Regions from separate parts of the Homo sapiens genome. Here all the other regions are linked to region 3. The links are contacts of gene promoters, found by promoter capture Hi-C in blood cells and fetal thymus (Javierre and others, 2016). All regions are on one chromosome and are shown on one strand. Each heading gives the region's core, a stretch centred on a gene start or on the middle of the fragment in contact. The rest is flanking DNA. Distances are from core to core; before and after follow the strand shown.

Region 1 (4,576 bases), core at 1,326-3,825, 900 kb after region 3:
CCTTGGGCTCCCAAAGTGCTGAGATTACAGGCATGAGCCACTGTGCCCAGCCTGTCCTTGTGCCTTTGATTCATCATTTATCCTCTCCTTCTTCTTTATTTTTCCACTGATCCTTTGTCACAGGCCTTAGTCTTCTGCCAGCTGATAAATGGGAATATTCCACAGGTTCAGTTCTCGCCCTTTTTCTTCTTTCATTATGTACATCACAAAGGAGATCTTATCCACATTCATGGCTTCTGCACACACATTAAAGCCATGTACACCTGCCTTCAGCCCTAGGTGAGTTCTAGGTGCCCACAGGACCTCTCTACCTATCTTCTCAAAGATAAGTCAATCTTAACATGTTCAAAATGAATCCATTATAATTGATGTATTAGTCTGTTCTCACACCGCTAATAAAGACATACCCAAGACTGGATAATTTATAATGGAAAGAGGTTTAATTGACTCACAGTTCAGCATAGCTGGGAGGCCTCAGGAAACTTACGATCATGGCAGAAGGGGAAGCAAACATGTCCTTCTTCACATGGTGGCAGCAAGGAGAAGTGCAGAGCGTTGGTGGAGAGCCCCTTATGAAACCACTAGATCTCGTGAGAACTAATTCACTATCACGAGAGTAGGATAGGGGAAATCATCCTCATGATTCAATTATCTCCACCTGGTCCTTCCCACGACACATAGGAATTACAGGAACTACAGTTCAAGATGAGGTTTGGGTGGGGACTATATCAATTGAGAATTAAAAAAAATCATTTCTTCTGTATTACCCTTGTTCTGTATTCTCTCTATAGTGAATGGCATTATGATTGTCACATCCTGAAACCTAGGAATCAACTCGTGTCTTCCCTGTCTCTTACTCTCTCACCTTCAGAGAATCACCAAGCTCTGTTGAACTTAATAATAATTGACAATGCTGAATATGAAAGGCATTTTTTAAAGAAGACTAAATGTATTTTCTCAATTTTCACAGTCACTGTGTTATGTGGGTGGCTAATATCACCTCCATTTTAAAATTAAGAAAATTGAGGCACCAAGAGGCAAAATAACTTGCTTTGGTCACACAGGTAATAAACGGCAGGGATGGGATCCAAATCTAGGCAGTTTACAGCGCTGGCCTCTTAACAACCATACCATGGTCGGCTTACTAAATGCCAGGATCTTAAATACCTCTTCAGTTCATTTCCTCCTATTCTTTCTCATTTTGGTAGAGTTGGTTCATGTGCTTCTTTTCTGCTGTGTAACTTCTTACAACCTGCTGCTCTAAATCCATTTTTAAGTTATCTTACTAATTAGCCTTCATCAACATTTTCAGGAATTTGGCTAAGCTATGTCTTTGTAATCTATAGATTTGAGATTTTGTTTCAAGAAAATTATATTCAATTATATATTTGAATTTTTCCCATTCCATATATTATTTTCTTCCATGAAAGTGATTATTTGTTTAATGTCCATACCACCTCCTTTCTTATTTTATCTCTGTTCTTTTCCAATTCGTTTTATGTTATTTACTCAAGGGCTTTCTTTTTGTCCTAGACTGTATTTTTATCCATATATATGTGTTACCATTTGTTGACTCTAATGAGAATTTCACCTCTGTAATAATTTCATCTTATGCTTCTATTCATCTCTGAGCTCCACACACCCACTGTTTATCTCCTGTTCTTGCTTCATCTCTCTTTTGATCGATCTCTTGTTATTCTTTCAGGATAATTTTTTTTTTTTTAAGGAAAGCCAACTTGCCTTTAGTTTCTTTGAGTCTTGGGAGAACTGTTTGTTTGAAATTGGCCTATTTTTCTATGAATAGGTCCTGAAATTTTGTGTTCTTCATTTGCCTTTTGTTTCCTTTTTTCTCCTATGTATTTTTTCTTTACTGTCTAACCTCTACCAGGGAAATGGATGTTTCAGAAAGAATTAAAGGTAAAGACAAGTGATAGTTTCTGAAATTAAAAAATAAATGTATACAAGTTTTGAGAGAGAATTTTATAAATTCCTTAATCTTTCCTACTTAACATACCCAGGGCTGAGCCTGGATGACCTAGAACACAGAGTTCTACCGTAGTATAGAAAGGATGTCCCTTCAGTCAATGGTAGTGAACTCAGAAAGCTTGCTTTCCAACCGGGAAGGAAGACAGGATGTAGGGAAAGTTAAAGAAAAGCTTGTCTATTTTTCTAGGAATAAAAGGGGAAGGGGAGAGAAGAAAGAGAGAGAAGGAAGAGATTCAGGAAAGTTGTGTTTCAGTTTTACATGTGCTAACTAAGTGAGGGCCGAACAGGCCGAGGACTTTTATTTCTGTTTCCTATTTTGGATTTTGAGAGGAGCTTAACTCTCAGACATCCCTGAAGAAATCTGGAGCATGGCTACATTATCTTGGAGGCATAGCAGAATCAGGTATTTGGAGGTTCTTAAGTTTAATTTCCCTGCTGTCTTAGTTTGTGTGCCTCCAGAGACAGACCTGTGGCAATGAGTGGAAAGGGTTTTGTTTGGGATATGTTCCCAAGAAACACCAGTAGATAATGGGGAAGTTAAACAGATGGGAAGAAAACCAATAAAGGTGTGTTATCACATTATCACTGTGGGCAATTGGAGTTTGATCCTGCTGGGGAACTCTGGGGGACAGTTTACAACACTTACTTCCAGTTTATCCAAGTTATTGGTTGAGAACTGCTCCCGAGAAACGTTAATTCCTTGGTATTTTCAGCCCGTTGTGTGTTCAGACTGAGTAGTCACTGATGGCCAGAGAAAGCCTTCAGGCAAAAAATGGAGGCATTGGCAGGTGAAGGGCTGGTGTATACGGAAATGGCAATTGTTGAAGAAATATTGGCAGTGCCCTGAAAGTATATGATACTGCTGTCACGGTATACTGAATATATAGCATTTAAAATGAATGAAGTAGAGATACATTTACTGATGTGATAAATCTCAAAAGTACAATAATGAATGAAGAAAAGTTATTGAAGAATGCTACCACATGATTTCATTTATATAAAGCTTAAAAACAGGTAAACCAAACAATATGCATAATTATATGTATCATACCCGTGGTAAAGCTGCAAAGAAAAGCATGGAATGATATTCACAAAATTCAGCGTAGCGTAGCATTTGCCTCTTATGGGGGAGAAAGGGAAATGAAGGTTTTGGTTATGTTCTATTTCTTAAGCTGTATGGTAGGTAAATGGGTGTTTTATTATTATTCTTTAAACTATACATATAAATTATACTTTCTTGTTTGTATATTTCATTAAAGTAAATCTAATTAATCTAAAAGAGGCATATTAATGTTAGGTCCCTTTTCTTGCTTTAGAAAATAAATCACAGGAAATTGTAAGCATTTTAACAATTCAGTTGCATGGAAACAGCTGAATACCAAACTCGAACTCAGTCACCAATTCTGATACCAAGTTGTTTTTATTTTAAGTTTCTAATATTATGTAACTTAAATAATACAATACACCTAGACACACCAAAGCAGTCCTATCTAGGTGTCAAAATACTGCTAGTCAATTCTAATAATGGAATGATAAACCACAGTCATGGACTATATTTCCATCCTTTAATATTTTGGCTAGAGTTTTAATTTAGTCTCTAGGTGGAACATACATAGATCAAACTAGATCAAGGGATATTCTCAAAGTGGCAAAATGACAACCTTCGACTTTTTAAAACTCAGAAATCACTCTTCTCCCCGTGAGGACATATATTATTTCTCCATATGTGGTTGGAACCACAGAAACTATGGTTGAAAACATTGTTGGGACAAACAAGCATGACTATTTTTAAGACTCTGATGATTTCGGATATAATCAGCACTGAACTAGTAAGTCATATGTAATTAGGTTGATGATATATTTAATGTCTAATGGATCCTGGCAACCTCTGATCAAATGCCTTTCAGTTAAACATCACAACAGCTCCAGGGCATGAGTCCTCTTTGTCAGTACACAAATGGATATTTACATAGACCCACTGTGCAGCTGAATTCCATTATCTTAGTAGTCCACGTGGAGAGACAACCAAATATCTATAATAGGAATGTTGAGTAACTCCCTTCAGCTTTATCTACTAAATGTGTCTTTTAAAAATCTTTTTAAAACTTTGTTGTGAAATACAGTATATAAAATAGAAATGCACAAAACAACAAAAAAAATTGGCACATTATTCTAAAGGCAACACCCATTTAACCACCATCCAAGTCAATAAGTAAAACAAGGCTAGCACCCTTTTAAGCACTCATGTGCCTTTCCTCTGGGCAAACCCCTCGGTACCCTTCAGAGGAAACCACTACCCTGGTGTTTTTGTTTTCTAGGAAGACGAGGGGAAGGGGAGAGAAGAAAGAGAGAATTCCTGAATTCCTGGCTTTGCTTTATAGTTTTGCTGCCTAACTATGCATTCCCAAGCAATATAGTTTAGTTTTGCCTGTATTTAACTTTTATAAATGGAATCATAGTATTTATGTTACTGTGTCTTGCTTCTTTTGCCCAATATTATATTCCATTAGATTCATCCATGTTACCCTACATAGGTGTTCTCCTTAAGCTTGTAAATGTGTCTTACATGATCTAGCTGCCATGTTTTGTA
Region 2 (4,300 bases), core at 1,232-3,731, 720 kb after region 3:
TGTAATACCAGCTACTTGGGAGGCTGAGGCAGGAGAATCGTTTGAACTCAGGAGGCAGATGTTGCAGTGAGCTGAGATCTCGCCATTGCACTCCAGCCTGGGCAACAAGAGTGAAACTCCGTCTCAAAAACAAAGAAAGAAAAAAGAGGCCGGGTGCGGTGGCTCACGCCTGTAATCCCAGCACTTTGGGAGGCCGAGACGGGCGGATCACGAGGTCAGGAGATCGAGACCATCCTGGCTAACACGGTGAAACCCCGTCTCTACTAAAAATACAAAAATTAGCCGGGCGTGGTGGCGCGCGCCTGTAGTCCCAGCTACACGGGAGGCTGAGGCAGGAGAATGGCGTGAACCCAGGAGGCGGAGCTTGCAGTGAGTCGAGATCGCGCCACTGCACTCCAGCCCGGGCGACAGAGCGAAACTCCGCCTCAAAAAAAAAAAAAAAAAAAAAGAAAAAAGAAAGAGGTATTTCACAAAAAGTGAATATTTGAAAAGATGTTTTACTTCTTTAATCAGAGAAAAGCAAAATCACAATGAGGTGTCATTTCATTTCCCTGTAGGCAGCCAAAAATTAAAACCTAAGGCAAAATTAAGTTTCGGCAAGTTTGTGGAACAACAGAACTCCAATACACTGCTGGTAGAAGTGAAAATTGCTATAGAATTAGAAAATGCCGTTACACCTTGGCATTATATTGTAACAATGAAAAGACCTATAACATACTCCAGGAATTCTACTCCTTCCACTAATGCACAAATAAGGTACACAAGAATGTGTAGCACCCAATCCTAGTGTTTCTGGAATTACCCAAATGTCCTTTGAGAAGGGCACTGGAAAATGCATCATATGTTCACACAGTTGAATGAATAACTACAACCTCATGCGTCAATGTGACTCAATCACAAAACACAGCGTTATCTGAAAAAAAATCAACAATATGAAAACATTTCTATAAAGATTAAAAACACCATTGCACAGTTGTATCAGGAAGCAGCAAATAGAGACCTCCTTGGCAATAGAGACTATTTCTTAAATTGGAGTATAAGTTCATAGATGCTGGTTGTGCTTCATAGCTTACATGACTGCTACATAGCTTACATGTGTGCTACGTGTGTGTGTGTGTATACATATATATATATGGAATAATTCATAATTGTTTAAAACTAGTTAAAGGGGGATGTTGAATGAACCCTACAAAATTTTAACGTTATTACCTTGAGGTTTGGATAATGTAGGACTTTCACTTTCTGTATTATTCATTTCTGGACTATTTAAAACTTATACAATTAAGTAAAATGTTTGTATTTGGGTAAAATGATTGCACAAAGGAAAACAAATTGCATAGAAATCTGGCACCATTTGAGGGCAATAATTACTGTTTTCAACTTACATAACTTCTCCAGGTGTCATATATTAAAATTATGTTTTGCGGACCGGGCGCGGTGGCTCACGCCTGTAATCCCAGCACTTTGGGAGGCCGAGGCGAGCGGATCACAAGGTCAGGAGATCGAGACCATCCTGGCTAACACGGTGAAACCCCGTCTCTACTAAAAATACAAAAAATTAGTCAGGCACGGTGGCGGGCGCCTGTAGTCCCAGCTACTCAGGAGGCTGAGGCAGGAGAATGGCGTGAACCTGGGAGGCAGAGCTTGCAGTGAGCCGAGATTGCGCCACTGCACTCCAGCCTGAGGGACAGAGCGAGACTCCATCTCAAAATAAATAAACAAATAAATAAATAAATAAATAAAATTATGTTTTGCATAGTCTGGGCTGCTAACTGTATTATCTTGAGAAAAATTTCCAACAACAATGGGTTTAAAAATGTTGGTTTTACTGAAAGCATGAATGCTTTTTCTGTACTGACAATTCCTGGCTTCATCTAATTTACGTTATACTTATTTGCCTTTGGCTCACTTCTGCACTTTTCCCATTTTTAAAAGATAAACTGTAAACTGCCACAAATCCTTTTCTGCTGGAGCCTGGACCAGGAGCGCGGATTCCTGTAAATAATGATGTAAATAAATAAGTAAATCAATGACTCCCATTCCCAAAGGGCCTTCTTTTCCATTTTTCTCTGGGGCATCGAAGTGCGGTGTGCCCTGCGAGCTCCCACAGGAACAACCCGGAACGTTTGTGGTCCTGTTGGGCCACCGCGTGCTCGGTAGGAAGCGGACGTCCCGGGGGCTGAAAGGGCCTTAGCGATTTTCTCGCTCTAGTCCCACCCGAGACCCGGGGCGCTGCAGGAACCTGCCCAGGCCACCGGGTGGGCGGCTGGGCGGGAGAAGCTGGGCAGCCCCTGGCAACACCGAACGGCCAGGACACACGCGGCTTCCTCCGCGGGAGGCGCTTCTCTCTGCGCCTGGGCCTTCACGACCCCTCCCGCGACCGTGGCCCCGAGGCCAGGTGCTTACTTGCCGCTCTCCACGCCGTGGCCGAGACCCAGCTAAGCAACCAGGGAAGCCTCGATGGGGTCATGGCGCCGACTCCCCGAGCCTCCGCGCAGGCGCAAAGCAGTAGTGGGAGGAGCAGGGGGCATGATCCGGAGCCTCCCTGCAGAGGGCGGGGCCTCCGTGGCCGGCTTTAGAAAAGGAGTTAGAGGCATCCCTGGGCTCTTTGGCCAAGAGAGACCCAGGCTACCTTGAGCCCGGTGTTAAAACGCCAAATCGTGGCTGCAGTTAGAAGAGGGAATAATTCCGTTCCGTTCATGCTTGTCAGTCTGAGCCGAAATGGCCCGTGGAAGATCCCTTTTATAGTTTACAAAGATTGAGCACCTTTTACTCTCTCACTCATGTAAAATGCTTCTTTTACCTAATTCTCCCTGTTTTGTGTTTTAAATCTTTGTTCAGTCAGCTCCTAGTTCGTCCATTCTGACCGACTAACCAGATGATATGAAAGGCGACATTTTTGAATGAGGTGCAAAGCAAGAAAAGGCTCTCCATCCAGGCCAGGATCCAGTGCAATGAGCTCTGCCCCTTAACCCTTACATCCCACCAGCTCTGATAGCGTTGAGTGGATGTGGCAGACCTGGATGCTTTGTGCAACTCGTGGAAATATTTACAGAATCATAGTGAAGGCCCCCAGAATTCTGGAATTTTGTCTTTTCTTTTAAAGAAAAGTTTCTGGCTAGCTATTGCGCCTTGGTAGTGTCTGACCATGTGACATCAAGTGGTTATACGATCGAAGCTTCTTATCATGAACTGAGAATTATCTGGTTCTCCTAGATAAGGAGATCCTTTTACGAAGAGAAAGTGGGCCGGGCAAGGTGGCTCACTCCTGTAATCCGAACACTTTGGGAGGCCGAGGCGGGTAGATTACCTGAGGTCAGGAGTTCGAGACCAGCCTGGCCAACACTCTACTAAAAATACAAAAATTAGCCGGGCGAGGTGGCACATTCCTGTAATCCCAGCTACTTGGGAGGCTGAGGTAGAAGAATCGCTTGAACTCGGGAGGCGGAGATTGCAGTGAGCAGAGATCACGCCACTGCACGCCAGCCTTGGAGACAGAGCAAAACTCCATCTCAAAAACAGAAAAAGAAAAAAGAGAGAAAGTGGGATACACAGAACTGGGCCAAAGTCAAAACGGAAACAGTTTTCATTTGTAGGGAGCTCACAGTCCTAATATCATGCTTTTGACCTTTAGCTTATATCTACAGTTTAATAATGAATTCCTTGTGACTAGCTGACTGAGGAAAAAATTCAAAGTCGGATGATGGCTTTGCTCAATAAACTGGCCCAGCTGGCAACTGACTGCTTTTCATATTTAGAGCCCCACTTAACAGAGGCCCTGAAGGAACAGAACAGGGAAAAAAAATTATTTCCAGCATGCATAATTTAGCTTATTTATGTATTTTATGTTTTTACAGGCACATGTCACCACACCTGGCTGATTTTTCTATTTTTAGTAGAGACAGGGTTTCGCCATGTTGACCAGGCTGGTTTCAAACTCCTGGCCTCAAGGGATCCACCCCTCTCAGCTTCCCAAAGTGCTGGGATTACAGGTGTGAGCCACTGTGCCTGGCCAGAATTTAGCTTATCTTGTATGCTTTGCCTAAAAAGAGACATGGCTTGAGATAAAAATCGACATTTCATAGGCAGTGACTGGTTTGTCAAGTGGCTGGGAACTGGGAATGTAAAAGTTTTGGACTGGGTCTTTGGAATAGGACCTCTCAAAGTGGTCCCAAAGCATGAAAACATTTGGGTCCTATTGAACGTTAAAAAAAAAAAAAAAAAAAAGAGCTTCCATTGCAGAAGGGCTCTTAATCAGAACAAGATTATTAGTTATCTATTGCTGCCTCACAAATTATCC
Region 3 (4,193 bases), core at 1-2,500:
GCGGTGTTAGCTGTAATATTTAGGTTATGATTCCCCCAAAACCCTGTGGTCACATTGGACTTTGGGCTCCATTTTCCCAATCTCCATCGCCCCTAGCTGATAAAGAGAAGGGCCTAATGTGGAGCGGCAAACCTGAACCACCTCCAGGATGCACACTTCTTCAGGGGGTCGGCTACATATTTCCTCCTTTTTAAAGTTCCTGATTATTTTCAGTCCATCAGAGGTTAAGGGGCTTATCTCTTGACTAACCTCTCCTCCAAGCTGTATTAGTCAAACAGTTCAAACACAGTTGGATCAACAAGTCTTCTGGTGAAATAAGATTCGTGAAGAATGCCCTGAATCCTAGGTTGAAAGGCCTGAGTTGGGCAGAACAGTGACGTATGAACTTCAGATGAGGGCCTACACTTCTGACGGCTTAGACCCCACTGTAGGGGAGAGCGCTGGCTGCTTGCACTTGTAGCCCCACCTTATTCTGAGTAATTTTTTTTTTTTTTTTTTTTTTTTTTTTTTTTACCAATAACACACACTAGAGGGGTTGTCAAAATCCTCTATTTTTAGACAGGTTCCTCCCACCCCACCTTCGCATAATCCAGCTGCTCTGCAGAGGCAAAGAAAACACCCATTCAAGTTGGGTTCTGCCTTGAGGGACTTCCTCGCCGTGCCCTCGGCCAGGCCCCAGGCCGGCAGTGGGAGGGTCCGGCGCTTTGGGCTCCTGCAGGCCCCCGGGCTCCACCGGGAGACAGGTCAGCCGCGGCGCGGAGGGGTCGGGTCGCAGCGGCGAGCAGCCACCTGGCGCCCCTGGCCTCCGAGCGCGAGGGCGGCTTGGCACTTGCCCCTCTGGGGTGTCGGGGCGCCCCAGCCCGACCCGAGGCCACCGCTGGGCCGCGTACCTGCTCGGCGCCCGCCGCCTCGGCGTCCTCGTCCGGCGCGGGGCTGGCGCCGGGCCGCCCGCCGGCTTGCTCCGGGGGCTGCGCGGGCTGCTCGGACTCCTGCCCCGGGCCCTCGCTGCCGCCGCCCGGCCCTGGTTCTTCGGGCTCGGGCTCCGAGTCGGTCTGCCAGGTGGAGTCGCAGTCCTCCACGGTGGTGGGCTCGCGGAAGCTGACCCCGCCGAGCAGGTTGCCCATTGAAGAGGCGGCGGCGGGCGCGGGGCTGCGGGGCTGCGGGGCGCAAGCTGCGGCAGGCGCTCTAGGGCCCGGGCATGGCCGCGGCGAGGGCGCTGGGCGGCAGCCTAGGCGCGCCCGCCCCGCACTGCCTCAGCGCGGCGAGCGGCGGACAGGCACCCTCGCGGGGAGGAGCCGGCGGCCCCGGGACCGCCGCCGCGCGCGCCTGAACCCGCCCATCCGGCTCCTTCTCCTCCCCACAGGCGGGAGCTGCCGCCGCCCAGAGCCCCCAGGGGAGCCAACTGCGGCCCCCAGCCGAGCGCCACCGGCCCCAGGCCGCGCCTCCCTTCCACGTTTCTCCCCGGAACACCTGCCTTCACGCGGCCCCCGGCGGCCCCCGGAGTGGATTGGGGTCGGCTACTACCCTCGCCGCCCGGAGCCGGGGGACGCCCTCCCGGGGCATCTCCCAGCTGAGCGGGATGAGGGATCCCGCCCAGCTCCTGGAGCTGAGGACTGGCGTGGACGTGGTGTCGAAGAGGTGTCACCGTCAGCAGGCGGGTCCTGTCCACACCCCCTCCCCCTCTCCCTGGTCCAGGAGGAAGACACTTTAGCTGCAGCAGAGGACAAAAGCTGATGGTGCCGGGCACCATATAAACAGGAAATCCCAGCTGCCACAACTGTACTTAGGGCAGCCACCTAGAGTCCTTGTGGTCTAGAAAAAGTCAGAGCTATCAGTCACCTCATCTAATGAGCAATCGCTCGTGAAACAAAAGGAACAGTAACAACTGGACCATCACATTGATTTGCGGGTAACCTTACACCCACTACAAATTGGTGCTCCGTGTAGGCAAAAATCTCAGAATCAGTAGAACAGATGGGCTGTTTCTAATGGAAGAAGCCTCGGCCCTGTGGTCTGTTCTGCAAATGAAAGGAGGAGGGAGAACTGTGTTAGGGAAGTTCTTTCTTTTTTCTGTTCTGTTCTGTTCTGTTCTGTTCTGTTCTGTTCTGTTCTGTTCTGTTCTGTTCTGTTGTTCTGTTCTTTCTTTTCTTTCTTTTTGAGACAGAGTCTCCCTCTGTTGCCCAGGCTGCAGTGCAGAGGCGCGATCTCGGCTCACTGCAACCTCCGCCTCCTGGTTTCAAGCAATTCTCCTGCCTCAGCCTCCCAATAGCTGGGATTACAGGCATAAGCCTATAGAAGTACGTAAAGATAAGGTAGTATTATCAAATATGTGACCCAGAGAAAAGTGACTGTTGTAAAATGTGTCTTCTGGCTTTCTAACTAGAAGGGAAGCCTCTTTGCAGGCAGCCCCCGTCTGAAAGTGTGTCTGTATTTACAGTGCTGTCAACTTGGTGGATGCTCAGTAAACATTTGTTAAATATGGACTAAGAAAGATGAGCTAGATATTTGAAGATTAAACTGTTGAACTTGGAATGAATAGTTTCTTTTCAAATGTTTCATGATGAAGTAGGAAGCCAAATCATGTTAGATGGACTGTTTCTAAGGGAAGAATCAGGTAAACCAGCTGCCTATTCCATGGATAAATCAGGATTACCTAAGCTCTTCATGCACTGCAACAAGACATCTAGGCTGTAGCTCTGTCACTAATCAGTTTCTGACTTTAAGTAGGTCACATGAACCTAAACTTCCTCATTTGTAAAATGAAACCAGATCTCTGGGAGCCCTTCCAGCTCTGACCTTCTGTGATCCTATGACTGGGAAAAGCTCTGAAACTAATAAGAAATAGACACGGGGTGCACAAAAAGACTTTTGGGGCCGGGTGCGGTGGCTCACGCCTGTAATCCCAGAACTTTGGGAGGCCGAGGCGGGCAGATCACCTGAGGTCAGATGTTCAAGACCAGCCTGGCCAACATGACGAAACCTCATCTCCACAAAAAAATATAAAAATTAGCCTGGCTTGGTGGCGGGCGCCTGTAATCCCAGCTACTTGGGAGGCTGAGGCACGAGAATCACTTGAACGCGGGAGGTGGAGGTTGCAGTGAGCTGAGATCAGGCCACTGCACTCCAGCCTGGGCGACAGAGTGAGACTCCATTGCCCCCACCCCCCGCCAAAAAAAATACTTTTTGATTATAATGGCTTAGCAGAAGAAGATGTGGGGCAGCCACATACCACAGGAATCCAACTGCTCAAAGCTGGGAATTCGATTTTCCGTTGGTAGAAGACCGGAACACATTGCAGAAGTAGATATTGTCCATCCAGCCTTAAGTGTTCCGAGATTGTTGATGTGGAAAGTCTAAGGATAGTTGTTGTGTCCCAGGCGCTCCATCTGTTGGTTTAGGTGTATGTAGATTAAAGTTGGCCACATGTTCTTTGCTCTCTTCCCATTGAGAAGTAGTCTTATTCCTTACTCTTGAAGGAGCTGGCCTCAGTGACTTGCTTAACTATAGAATATGAAAGAAGTGATAGTCCAGGATTTTCTAAGTTAAGCCATAAGGAACCTTGCATTTTCCACTGGGTCTCTTGGAATATTCTCTCTGTTAGCCCCATGCTGCCATGTAAAAAGTTCAGCTAGCTTGAGACTGCCATACTCCTAGAAAGGCCACTTGTGTGTGGCCTCTGGTCATCCTCTGGTCATGGTACCAGCTGAGGCCTACCTTCCAGTATCCCCTGCTGGATTCCACGTTTTTGTTTTTTTTTTTTTATTGAATCCTCCAGACCAACCCATCCACCATCTGAATACCTTTCAGTGACCTCCATCGACCCTACTTGGAATAAAGGGACTACCCAGCAAAGCCCTGCTCAGATTTCTGACCCACAGAAGAGTGAAATGCAATAAAATGGCTGTTGCTTTAGGTCACTAAATTTTGTAGTAGTTTGTTATACATCAGTAGATGATGGAATGGTGAGAAGTATCTGTGTTTGTGCATATAAACATTTAAGTAACTACTGCAATTAAATCCTTCCCTTTTACACCACCTTTTGAAAAATGTGTCAATTTTTATAGGACCATAGATGATATGCCAGATTTTGCAATATATTTTCTAAAGAACATAATTTTACATGAAGCGTAACACCAACCTTATATAATATTTAATCAATTTTAAGTTTAGAGCAATAAGCACGACCACATTGT

Evidence for each region. Contacts are between HindIII fragments. The CHiCAGO score rates a contact against its expected background, and 5 or more counts as called.
Region 1: a fragment that was not itself captured here is called in contact with the fragment with the promoter of OGFRL1 in region 3 in 2 of 17 cell types (M2 macrophages and M0 macrophages); the score reaches 5.9 in M2 macrophages.
Region 2: a contact is called between the fragment with the promoter of SDHAF4 here and the fragment with the promoter of OGFRL1 in region 3, in 4 of 17 cell types (naive CD8 T cells, total CD4 T cells, total CD8 T cells and 1 more). The highest score is 9.0, in naive CD8 T cells.

What each region holds. Positions count from the first base shown.
Region 1 is chr6:70,389,698-70,394,273 of GRCh38, reverse strand. The region is part of intron 2 of LOC105377847 (a long non-coding RNA gene); the gene reads left to right. LINC01610 (long intergenic non-protein coding RNA 1610) reads right to left here and starts at 72. Exons shown (of 4, transcript NR_125857.1): 1 at 2-72. The HindIII fragment of the contact is 833 bases long and covers 2,159-2,991 here.
Region 2 is chr6:70,565,111-70,569,410 of GRCh38, reverse strand. SDHAF4 (succinate dehydrogenase complex assembly factor 4) reads right to left here and starts at 2,481. Exons shown (of 3, transcript NM_145267.3): 1 at 2,407-2,481. The coding sequence starts at 2,470. RefSeq lists a silencer at 2,134-2,193. The HindIII fragment of the contact is 5,796 bases long and covers 1-3,180 here.
Region 3 is chr6:71,285,868-71,290,060 of GRCh38, reverse strand. OGFRL1 (opioid growth factor receptor like 1) reads right to left here and starts at 1,250. Exons shown (of 7, transcript NM_024576.5): 1 at 891-1,250. The coding sequence starts at 1,124. All of the region lies in intron 3 of LOC124901339 (a long non-coding RNA gene), which reads left to right. RefSeq lists a silencer at 538-1,597. The HindIII fragment of the contact is 6,418 bases long and covers 1-4,193 here.